Regions from separate parts of the Homo sapiens genome. Here region 2 is linked to region 1. Evidence: promoter capture Hi-C in 16 types of primary human blood cells and fetal thymus (Javierre and others, 2016). All regions are on one chromosome and are shown on one strand. Each heading gives the region's core, a stretch centred on a gene start or on the middle of the fragment in contact. The rest is flanking DNA. Distances are from core to core; before and after follow the strand shown.

Evidence for each region. Contacts are between HindIII fragments. The CHiCAGO score rates a contact against its expected background, and 5 or more counts as called.
Region 2: a contact is called between a fragment that was not itself captured here and the fragment with the promoter of PIGH in region 1, in 3 of 17 cell types (total B cells, naive CD4 T cells and erythroblasts). The highest score is 6.0, in total B cells.

Annotation. Positions count from the first base shown.
Region 1 is chr14:67,599,018-67,603,883 of GRCh38, forward strand. PIGH (phosphatidylinositol glycan anchor biosynthesis class H) reads right to left here and starts at 1,251. Exons shown (of 4, transcript NM_004569.5): 1 at 1,007-1,251. The coding sequence starts at 1,186. It also overlaps a transcript of GPHN not described here. RefSeq lists an enhancer at 929-1,248. The HindIII fragment of the contact is 5,160 bases long and covers 1-2,267 here.
Region 2 is chr14:67,676,009-67,680,874 of GRCh38, forward strand. RDH11 (retinol dehydrogenase 11) reads right to left here. Exons shown (of 7, transcript NM_016026.4): 7 at 792-2,415. The coding sequence ends at 2,313. It also overlaps a transcript of GPHN not described here. Among named protein-coding and RNA genes, the nearest start is that of VTI1B, 3.8 kb to the left of the region's middle. RefSeq lists a silencer at 4,303-4,402. The HindIII fragment of the contact is 5,784 bases long and covers 1-4,866 here.

The DNA of each region.
Region 1 (4,866 bases), core at 1-2,500:
CATACGGTTTAGATAGTTAGATAGTTTCCTGCAATTAGGGCAGTCTTAATTCTGCATATTTCTATGCTAAATTACCATGCTCTGAAACACGCTTTGACAGCAAAAAAGCGAATGGATGCAGTAATGGAAACAATATCCAAGTTACAAAAATAAATAGCCCTGCTGTACTTAGCTCTGATTAGATCACTTCTGGGATAATACATTCAATTCAGGCACTACATATGAAACTAGAACTTATCCTGAAAATTAGGATAATTCTTTTTATTTGAGAGCTGTCACAAAGTTACTGCATTTAACCCTCACAATATCATGAAGCTGGTATGGCAGGCATGAATTCTATTTTAGAGATGTAGAAAATTGAGGCTCAGAGAAAACAGGAATGAATCTGGAAATTGAGCACAGCTATCACACACGTCCAAAATTTCATAAACCTTTAGAAAGTACTTGAAATTGGGGAAGGGTTTGGGAGGAGGGAGGGTTAAAAAACTCCCTTGAAAAACAGAGATTAGGAAGAACTATAACACTCTATCTATACACACAGATAAACACACACACTTGTGGAGGCAAAGACAGTTTGTGGAAGTCTACGTAAAGTATTGTTAGCAGTACTACTTTGAGGAGCAGAAGGGATGGACGAGGAAGACCCACTTAGTAGTTCCTTGAACTCTTGGAATTAAATTACTGCGCGCCTATACTACATAGAACACATGGCAGTTAAAGTTTTAGGCCGTCGCGCAAGAACTAGATGTATGCTGAGTGAACCCACGGAGCAGAGCACAGCCACGGAAGGGGAATGTACTATCCAGGAGCACACATTTCACTAAACGTCATTTAAAGAGCTGTCCAGCAGCGGAATATCGTCCCCAGAACCCGTGAGTTCCCGCCCTCCTGTCCTATCACTGTAGGAGGGGCCGACCAGAGGTCCGGGCTCGACCAAAGACCCCAAAGACCCTCCCAAAGCCGAACCCCCTCCTTCGAGCGCGGGGAGGGGCCGACTTGCCATTACCTCGCAGAGGGTGAAGAGTCCGTAGGCCGCCAGCCACACCGTGCAGGTGACAGCGGTGAGCGAACGCAGCGAGAGCCGAGGGCAGCTGAGGCAGAATTCCCGGCAGGACGGGGAGTAGTAGCGGCGCTGCAGCGCCAGGCGGCCGCCGCAGATATCCGAAAAGCTCCGCTCATCCTCCATGACGCCCCCACTCGGCCGCCCGCACCGCGCGGCGCTGCACTGCGCTCGCCGGCCCTGGCCGTCTCGCCCGCTCCAGACCCGCTTCCGGCAGCCGCGTCACCACGCCCCGCCCTAAGCCTGCGCAGCCTCAGTTGCGCGCCGAGAGCTCTGCTGGGGGCTGATGGTTGTGCGTTCTTCCGGGCCGGCCTTGACTGTCTTCGAAAAAACCTCGTCGGGGCAATAGTTAAGTGGAAAGATTAAAATCGTTTTTAGACCGGGCGCGTTGACTCAGGCCTGTAGTCCAGCACTGGGAGGCCAAGGCGGGAGGATCGCTTGAGCCTGGGAGGTCGAGGTTGCAGTGAGCGGAGATCATGCCCCTGCTCTCTAGCCTGTGCGAGAGAGCAAGACCCTGTCTCAAAACAAACCCACAGTTTGTTTTTGTTTTGAGACGGAATGGCGCGACGTCGGCTCACTGCAACCTGCTTCCCCCGGGTTCAAGCGATTCTCCTGCCTAAGCCTCCTGAGTAGCTGGGATTACAGGCGCGCGCCACCACGCCCTGCTGATTTTTGTATTTTTAGTAGAGACAGGTTTCACCATGTTGGCCAGGTTGGTCTCAAACTCCTGACCTCAGGTGATTCGCCCGCCTCGGCCTCCCGAAGTGCTGGGATTACAGGCGTGAGCCACCGCACCCAGCCCAAACCCACAGTTTTAATCATGCTTTTGCTTGGCAAGCCGATTTCTCTAAGCCAGAGTGAGCCGCAAGGAGAGCCCACGGGTATTCATTTCACTTACTCTTTTCCTGTGCCGGGTAGTTTGAGGTGCTTGAGGATGCAGCAGTGAACGATGTTGATGACAGTCTCTGCCCTCGGGCAGCTTCCTTTCTAGTAGGAGACAATATGGAAATAAGAGAGTATCGTTGGCAATACTATGCTGACTGGCAGGGATGGACTGAGGACTTTACATAGGGCAGTCAGGCGAAGTCTCTAAGTAAGAGGACACTGAGTTACAAGGGTGACGAGCCAGACAGGACTGAAGGAGCTCTGGAGGAGGAATTTGCCAGAAAGAAAGACCAGGAAAGGCAAACCCCTCGAAGTTGGAACAAGCTTGGCTTAATGAAATAATCAAAAGGCGAGAAAGGTTGGTGTGTGGGGAAAACAGTTGGAAGCTGGGGAGGCAGGTAGGGGTCAGATCCAAGAGGGTCTTGTAGGGTCTGGTAAGGAGTTTGGATTTCACTGCCTGGGAGTTCTGTCTCCCAAATGACTGCTTGGACCGTGGTAGACAGGCAAGACCTGGCTGGGAATTAAGCAGGAGCGGGAGATGCAGAAGAAATGGATAATAAAATTACTAAACTCATGAGTAATAGTGGCCTATGAGTTCCATTTTTACTTCTGATGTGGCCCAGGAGTGGCTATGTGGACTGTCAAAACACTTGTGATGGGCTGGGCATGGTGGCACATGCCTGTAATCTCAGCACTTTGGGAGGCTGAGGAGGGCAGATCACTTGGGTCAGGAGTTCAAGATCAGCCTGGCCAACATGGTGAAACCATCTCTACTAAAAATACAAAAAAATTACCTGGGCATGGTGGAGCATGCCTGTAATCCCAGCTGTTCGGGTGGCTGAGGCAGGAGAATCACTTGAACTTAGGAGTTCAAGACCAGCCTGGGCAACAGAGCAAGACTGTGTCTATATTCATTTAAAAAAAAAAAAAGATCCATGGCATAAAGGTCTCACCAGCTTTAAGTCTCTCTGATGAAAGGTTCCGTTTCTTCATCTTCATTCAGAATTTTATTTCCCTTTCTTTTTTCCTAAAGGATTTCTTCAAGCACTTCTTTATTTTTCTAGTTTTATTTCTGTGCCCCGAATCTGACAATTAATACACTCCTTTTATTAGTCCGTTTTCACACTGCTATAAAGAACTACCTGAGACTCGGTAATTTATAAAGAAAAGAGGTTTATTGACTCACAGTTCCACATGGCTGGCAAGGCCTCAGGAAACTTACAATAATGGTGGAAGGCAAAGGGGAAGCCAGGCATGTCTTACATGGCAGCAGGAGGGGAGTGGGGAAGTGCCACATTTTTAAACCGTCAGATCTCGTGAGAGAACTCACTCAGCATCACGAGACCAGCATGGGGGAAATCCGTCCCCATGATCCAATCACCTCCCACTGGGTCCCTCCCCTAACAAGTGGAGATTACAATTTGACATGAGATTTGGGTAGGCACAGAGAGCCGAACCATATCACCCCTTTTACTATTGCATATATCATGTGTTTTATAATTATAAAAGTGATATTTGCTTATTGTGGAAAATTTGAAAAATACAGAAAAGAAAAAAATGTAAACCACCCATATTTCCATCACTCAGAGATAAGTACTGTTAATGTTTTGGGGAAGCCTGTAGTCCTGGAGTTCTTAACTTGGGCTCCACGGATAGAATCAGTGTTTCATTTTTAGTTTCATTAACTTCTAATTAAAATTTAACATTTCTTTTGATTATGAATATGGGCAACAAACTAGTATTAGTAGAGCTTGTGATTTTTGTCACTGACAGAAATCACAGATATTTTCTTTTCACAATAATTGTTTCAAAATGTCATTTCTAGTCATTGCTACTTCAAAATTGCAGTAATTATTAAACCCATCACTAGCTATTATTATTTAATGTGTCAATAAAGAGAAACATATCACTGTAACACATTTTTAAAATATTTTGATAACCATATTTTAATTTAGTTGATTTTCTTAGAAGTCCTATGTATTTATACATTTTAAAGCATTATTATAATAAAGGGTCCATTCATTTCGCCAAACTTCCAGAGGGTCTACAATACAAAAGGTACCTGTACAGGCTAAGAAGTTTCTTTTCTTTTTCTTTCTTTCTGGTTTGTTTTGTTTTGTTTGAGGCAAGGTCTTGCTCTGTCACCGAAAGCGGAGTGCAGCAGTGGTACGGTCATGGCTCACTGCAGTCTCAACTTCCTGGGCTAAAGAGATCCTCCCACCTCAGCCCCTCAAGTATCTAGGGCTACAGGCACACTCTACCACATCAGGCTAATTTTTGCATATTTTGTAGAAATGGCATCTCACTATGTTTCCCAGGCTATTTTCAAACTCCTAGGCTCGGGTGATCCTTCGGCCTCAGCCTCCCAAAGAGTTGGGATTACAGGCATGAGTCACCATGCCCAGCAGGCTAAGAAGTTTCACAATTATAGAGTTATAGAAAGAAAAAGGCCAAATGTACTTTACTTAATTTTTTAAAAATACTCAATTATTAGGAATAAATACTGTGGTAGTCTAAGATCTCTAAAATCCTTTTTCTTTTTAGAGAGAGGGTGTTGCTCTGTTACTCAGGCTGCAGTGCAGTGGTATAATCATAACTCATTGTGACCTTGAATGCCTGGGTTGAAGCGTTCCTGTTGCCTTGGCCTCCTAAAGTGCTGGGATTGCAGGCATGAGCCACTGCACCCAGTCACTAAAATCCTTATTACTGCTTTGTGGGTTGTTTGTTTGTTTGAGACGGAGTTTTGCTCTTGTTACCCAGGCTGGAGTGCAATGGCACAATCTTGGCTCACCACAACCTCCGCATTCCAGGTTCAAGCGATTCTCCTGCTGAGGTCAGCCTCCCAAGTAGCTGGGATTACAGGCATGCGCCACCATGCCCAGCTAATTTTGTATTTTTAGTAGAGATGGGGTTTCTCCATG
Region 2 (4,866 bases), core at 841-3,340, 78 kb after region 1:
ATCGCCTGAACCCGGGAGGCAGTGGTTGCAGTGAGCTGAGATCGTGCCACCACACTCCAGCCTGGGTGACAGAGAAGACCCTATCTCAAAAAATTAAAATAAATTATTATTTTCACCGATTTCACGGTTTGCTCAAGGTGTCTGTTCTCAAATGTTTGCTTGGGAGTTCAATTTTAAACTGCCTACAAATATTAAAAGATGTATGACTGCTCAGGAGAAAATGCTTTGCTAATTTGTATCTCCTGGGCCCTCATTTTTATTAGATCAAGTTCATTGGCTGTTGATTCAACACACTTTGGTTAAGCTCTTAATATGCACTGAGCATAGACATGACCAAGTCTGAGGATAGTCAGTATACTGTGTAAGTCCCACAGCACAATGCTGGGACTTGTCACAGTACAGAAATAAGGGGCAGGTGCAAAAAAAGGATCAATAGCCTGGGGCCGGGTGCTGCGGCTCACACCTGTACCCCAGCACTTTGGGAGGCCAAGGTGGGAGGATCGCTTGAGCCCAGAGTTTGAGGCCAGCCTGGGCAACAAAGCAAGACGCTGTCTCTAATTAAAAAGAAAGGAAAAAAAAATGGCCCGGGATGATCAAGAAATGTGGAAAAAGTGTCTGTGAAGAGTGTCAAAAAAGGTTAAGTAGGAAATGGTGAATGAACAATTAGATTATCACACAACCTAAATTAATAGCATGTGGATTGAGATTACACTGTAGCTAGACTCTGGAACAAATTATTCTTTAGAATGAGAAATCATTGCACAACCATAATAATGAACAGTGTTTTCTTCTTTTGACTGTAATCAAACTTTTAATTCTTAGTTTTTATTCTGGTAAATGAAAACAAAAAATAATCAAAAAGAATTTTTATTTGTCATTGACAGTTCAATATAAATTAAGTAAAACATTAATTCATTTATTCTGCACTATTATCAGAATTTTTCTAATTTTTCCGTAAAATGACCATTTCTAAACATATAGCTTAATGGTCAAAACAAGTGCAATAAAAGATTAATTTACAAGTATCAGAAGTGAAGACTGTGGTCCTATAACTCTTTCCCCCACCAAAGTTAAAATATAATTGTCATTCCAGGAAATCAAAATCTTTTAGAATAGCACACTCCAAACAAGTGATGGGAACACTACTAATTCCTTAGACTTCCTTTGGCAGCATTACTTTTGATAAGAAGTCTCCAAATAAAATACAAAATTTTGGCACAGACATTTTAATCTTGTCAAGACAATGTAAGGAAATGCCCCAAAATATTATTAAATTGACCATAATTACCAATATCAGTCCCTAAGATAATTTTTCTGAATGAAGAATTGTTTTTTTTGTTTGTTTGTTTTTAGGATTTTTTTTTTTTTTTTTTTTTTTTTTTTTGCCACACTGGTTTTTGTTAAGACCTCATCAGTCCTGGGTGCTTGCCCTCAATTCCTCCATAGCTATGTTAGCATATTTAATATCTTTTGCTATTAATCCTTAACTAGTTAATCCTTAAAGGGCTAGTTAATCCTTAACTAGTCCCTTCATTTTGTGCATTATCTTCCAGTATTCTCCTTCTCTTTTTTTACTTCTTCCCTGCTACCCATGTGCTCTTGGTGGGTAGTTACCAACATATACAGAATCTGCTTCCCTTTGCAGCATTTCATTTGCATAAAGACTGGATGGCACTGGTTTGCTCCATCTCTGATTATTGTGGCTGTTTTGAACTTTGTGAAAATACTCCCTTGGCACACATAAACAGGAAGACACACAAAGATATACACAATTTTTAGTAGAGGTGGGGTTTCACCATGTTGGCCAGGCTGGTCTTGAACTACTGACCTCCGGTGATCCACCATGCCTGGGCAAGCCCTGCTCCTGAGCCAGTCTTTGTTATTCATGTTAAGCTGAGGTTGCAGTGTGGCCCTCTTGAAGTGAAGACTGGTTGGTTGGGAGGAACTGAATTGTGAACAAAGAAGCTAGTTCAAATTTGCATAAATCATCCCTGCTATAGCTTAGATTCTCCTAGGTAGTAGTTTCTTTCAGAAGGAAAATGAGCTGTGCAGGTCATATGAGGGTCTTCTTATCCTATTATGATATCTCTAGTAACTCTGGCAGTAACAGAAGCAAAGTAAATCTGGACATGACAGACATTTAGACGAATCTGGCAGTACACTGAGTTTTAACTGGACACCAAGCAGGCAAGGCTGGAAGGTTTTGCTCTCTTTGTGCTAAAGGTTTTGAAAACCTTGAAGGAGAATCATTTTGACAAGAAGTACTGTGTAGTCTGCTGCAGTCTTCTCTTGGGTCCAACTGGCACTGCCTGTTAGTCTATTGGGAGGCCCAGCAGGTCACAACTGACGTCCCACAGCCGCCTTGCTATAGTCTCATTACGAGCTTGGGCAGAGACCCATGCCACATGACAGTCACTGGAAGGTAAAGAGAAAGGTATGAAGCACAGTGTTAAGAATGAAGTCTGCCATCTGCCAGGGATAAGGAATATGACATAAAAACAACTAGGGATCACATGTTCTCCATGTACTTCACAGGGCCAGTGTTTGTCCTTATCTCTTCATTCTCCAGTCCTTAGCCAGAGAAAATGTAATTACCATTTTAGATCTCCTCGCTAGACCACCTCTCATCAGAATGCTTTGTTTGATATATAATGCATACATTTGGTCTTTATATTCCCCTATTTATATAATTTAATATTAGTGCCTGCCTGACACCCATGTATATCCATCTTCTTCAAGTAAGTCCATAAGGCCCATTCTACAGAGCCTTGGACAATGTCATATAGCTGAGATCCTGCTATTCACATTGGTCAGAGATGCCTGGAGTAGTAAAAAAAAAAAAGAAATGCTTATTTCTGGACTCCTTGAAGTTATACTGTTAGTAAACTCATATGAGAAGTAAAGCCAGCTTCGAAAACAACAAAAGGAAAAGGCGACACAGAAAAGAAATGGTAAAACCAAGGTACGAGGTGTCTTGGTCCATTTTGTGGTACTGTAACAGAATACGACAAACTGGGTAACTATAATGAGCATACAGAAACTGGCTTATGATTATGGAAGCTGAGAAGTCCAAGATCAAGGGGCTGGCATCTGATGAAGGCCTTCTTGCTGTGTAATAACAAGATGGAAGGCATGACATGGGCAAGAGAGGGAAGGGGACACAAGTCATCCTTTAATAAGGAACCACTCCCAAGATAATGAACCCGTTCCAGAGATAATGGCATTAAACCATTCATGAGGGCTGCCCTTGTGACCTAATTTACCTCTTAAAGGCCCTGCCTCTCTATACTGTTGTATTGAGGCTTAAGTTTCCAACATATGAACCTTGAGGGACACATTCAAATCATAGCAAAGTGTTTCATATACCCTCTCTTCATTGCTGTAATTAATTCCAAGTTTTTTTTTTTTTTTTGGAGGCGGAGTCTCACTCTGTCGCCCAGGCTGGAGTGCAGTGATGCGATCTCAGCTCACTGCAACCTCCGCCTCCCAGGTTTGAGCAATTCTCCTGCCTCAGCCTCCAGAGTAGCTGGGATTATAGGCGCCTGCCACCATGACTGGCTAATTTTTGTATTTTTAGTAGAGACAGGGTTTTGCCATGTTGGCCAGGCTGGTCTCGAACTCCTGACCTCAAGTGATCCACCTGCCTCGGCCTCCCAAAGTGCTGGGATTACAGGCATGAGCCACTGCACCCAGCCTGTAATTCCAAGTTTTATAATTTTATAATTCCGATGCAGAAAATTTTCTTAAGGACAATTCTGACTCATTTTTGTATTCTCTGGATCTGGTATACATCTGGTAAGCATTCAGTCAAAGTTTTAAAAAAAATGATTGAATGTATTACAATCTTTAGTCATGTGAGGAAACAATTTTTAAAAGTATACTATTTCAAGAAAATTGCTTCCTCAGTATCTAAGCAAATTCTGAAGGTGAAAGAGTTGACAAGTCTGAATTAACTATATATGCAAACTCTTAACACTATGTCAAGTAAGACAGTGGGATTCAAAGTGTGCACCACAAACCAGCAGCAGGAGCATCAACTGGGAGCTTGTTAGAAATTCTCCAGCCCTACTCCAGACATACTGAATGAGAATCTCTAGGGTTGTGGTCCAGGAATCTATTTTCAACTAGTTTTCCAGATGACTCTTGAACACACTAAAGTTTGAGAAATACCATTTCAAAATATCGTCACGTTTACAAAACAAGTCTTATCAGTACTTCTGTTTAAGAAGACTCACCAGTATGACCAGTACAACTTGCCATTTCCTAGTGAAAAGATCATCAGTGAGAACCACAAGGCTCTGTATCTCTCTGGAAATGACTCAGCCTTTGTAAGCCTCTGCATCCTCCACTGCACTGTGCCTTATACTCTTCATAAGGTTACAGTTAAGAGCAAAGAACACAGTTGACATGAAGGTTCCTTGTAGGCTATAAAAACTAATCAAATACTACAGCAAGAGCTTTCTGGTTGTTTTTTTTAGACAGGGTCTCACTGTTGCCCAGGCTGGAGTGCAGTGGTGTGATCGCAGCTCACTACAACCTCCCCAGGCTCAGGTGATCCTCCTATCTCAGCCTCCCAAGTAGCCAGGACCACAGGGACACGCCACCACGCCTGGCTAATTTTTGCATTTTTTATAGAGATGGGGTCTCATTATGTTGCCTAGGCTGGTCTTGAACTCCTGGGCTCAAGTAGTTTGCCCACCTCAGCCTCCCAAAGTGCAGGGATTACAGGCGTGAGCCGCCGCGCCCAGCCAAGTAAGAGCTAGTTAAGTGTGCCTATGGCATCAGCATGGTCACAGTATTGACATTTCCAGGGGGATTTTGCTAAGAATTAGTATAGGTAAAAGATAAACTAATTTCAAAACTTAC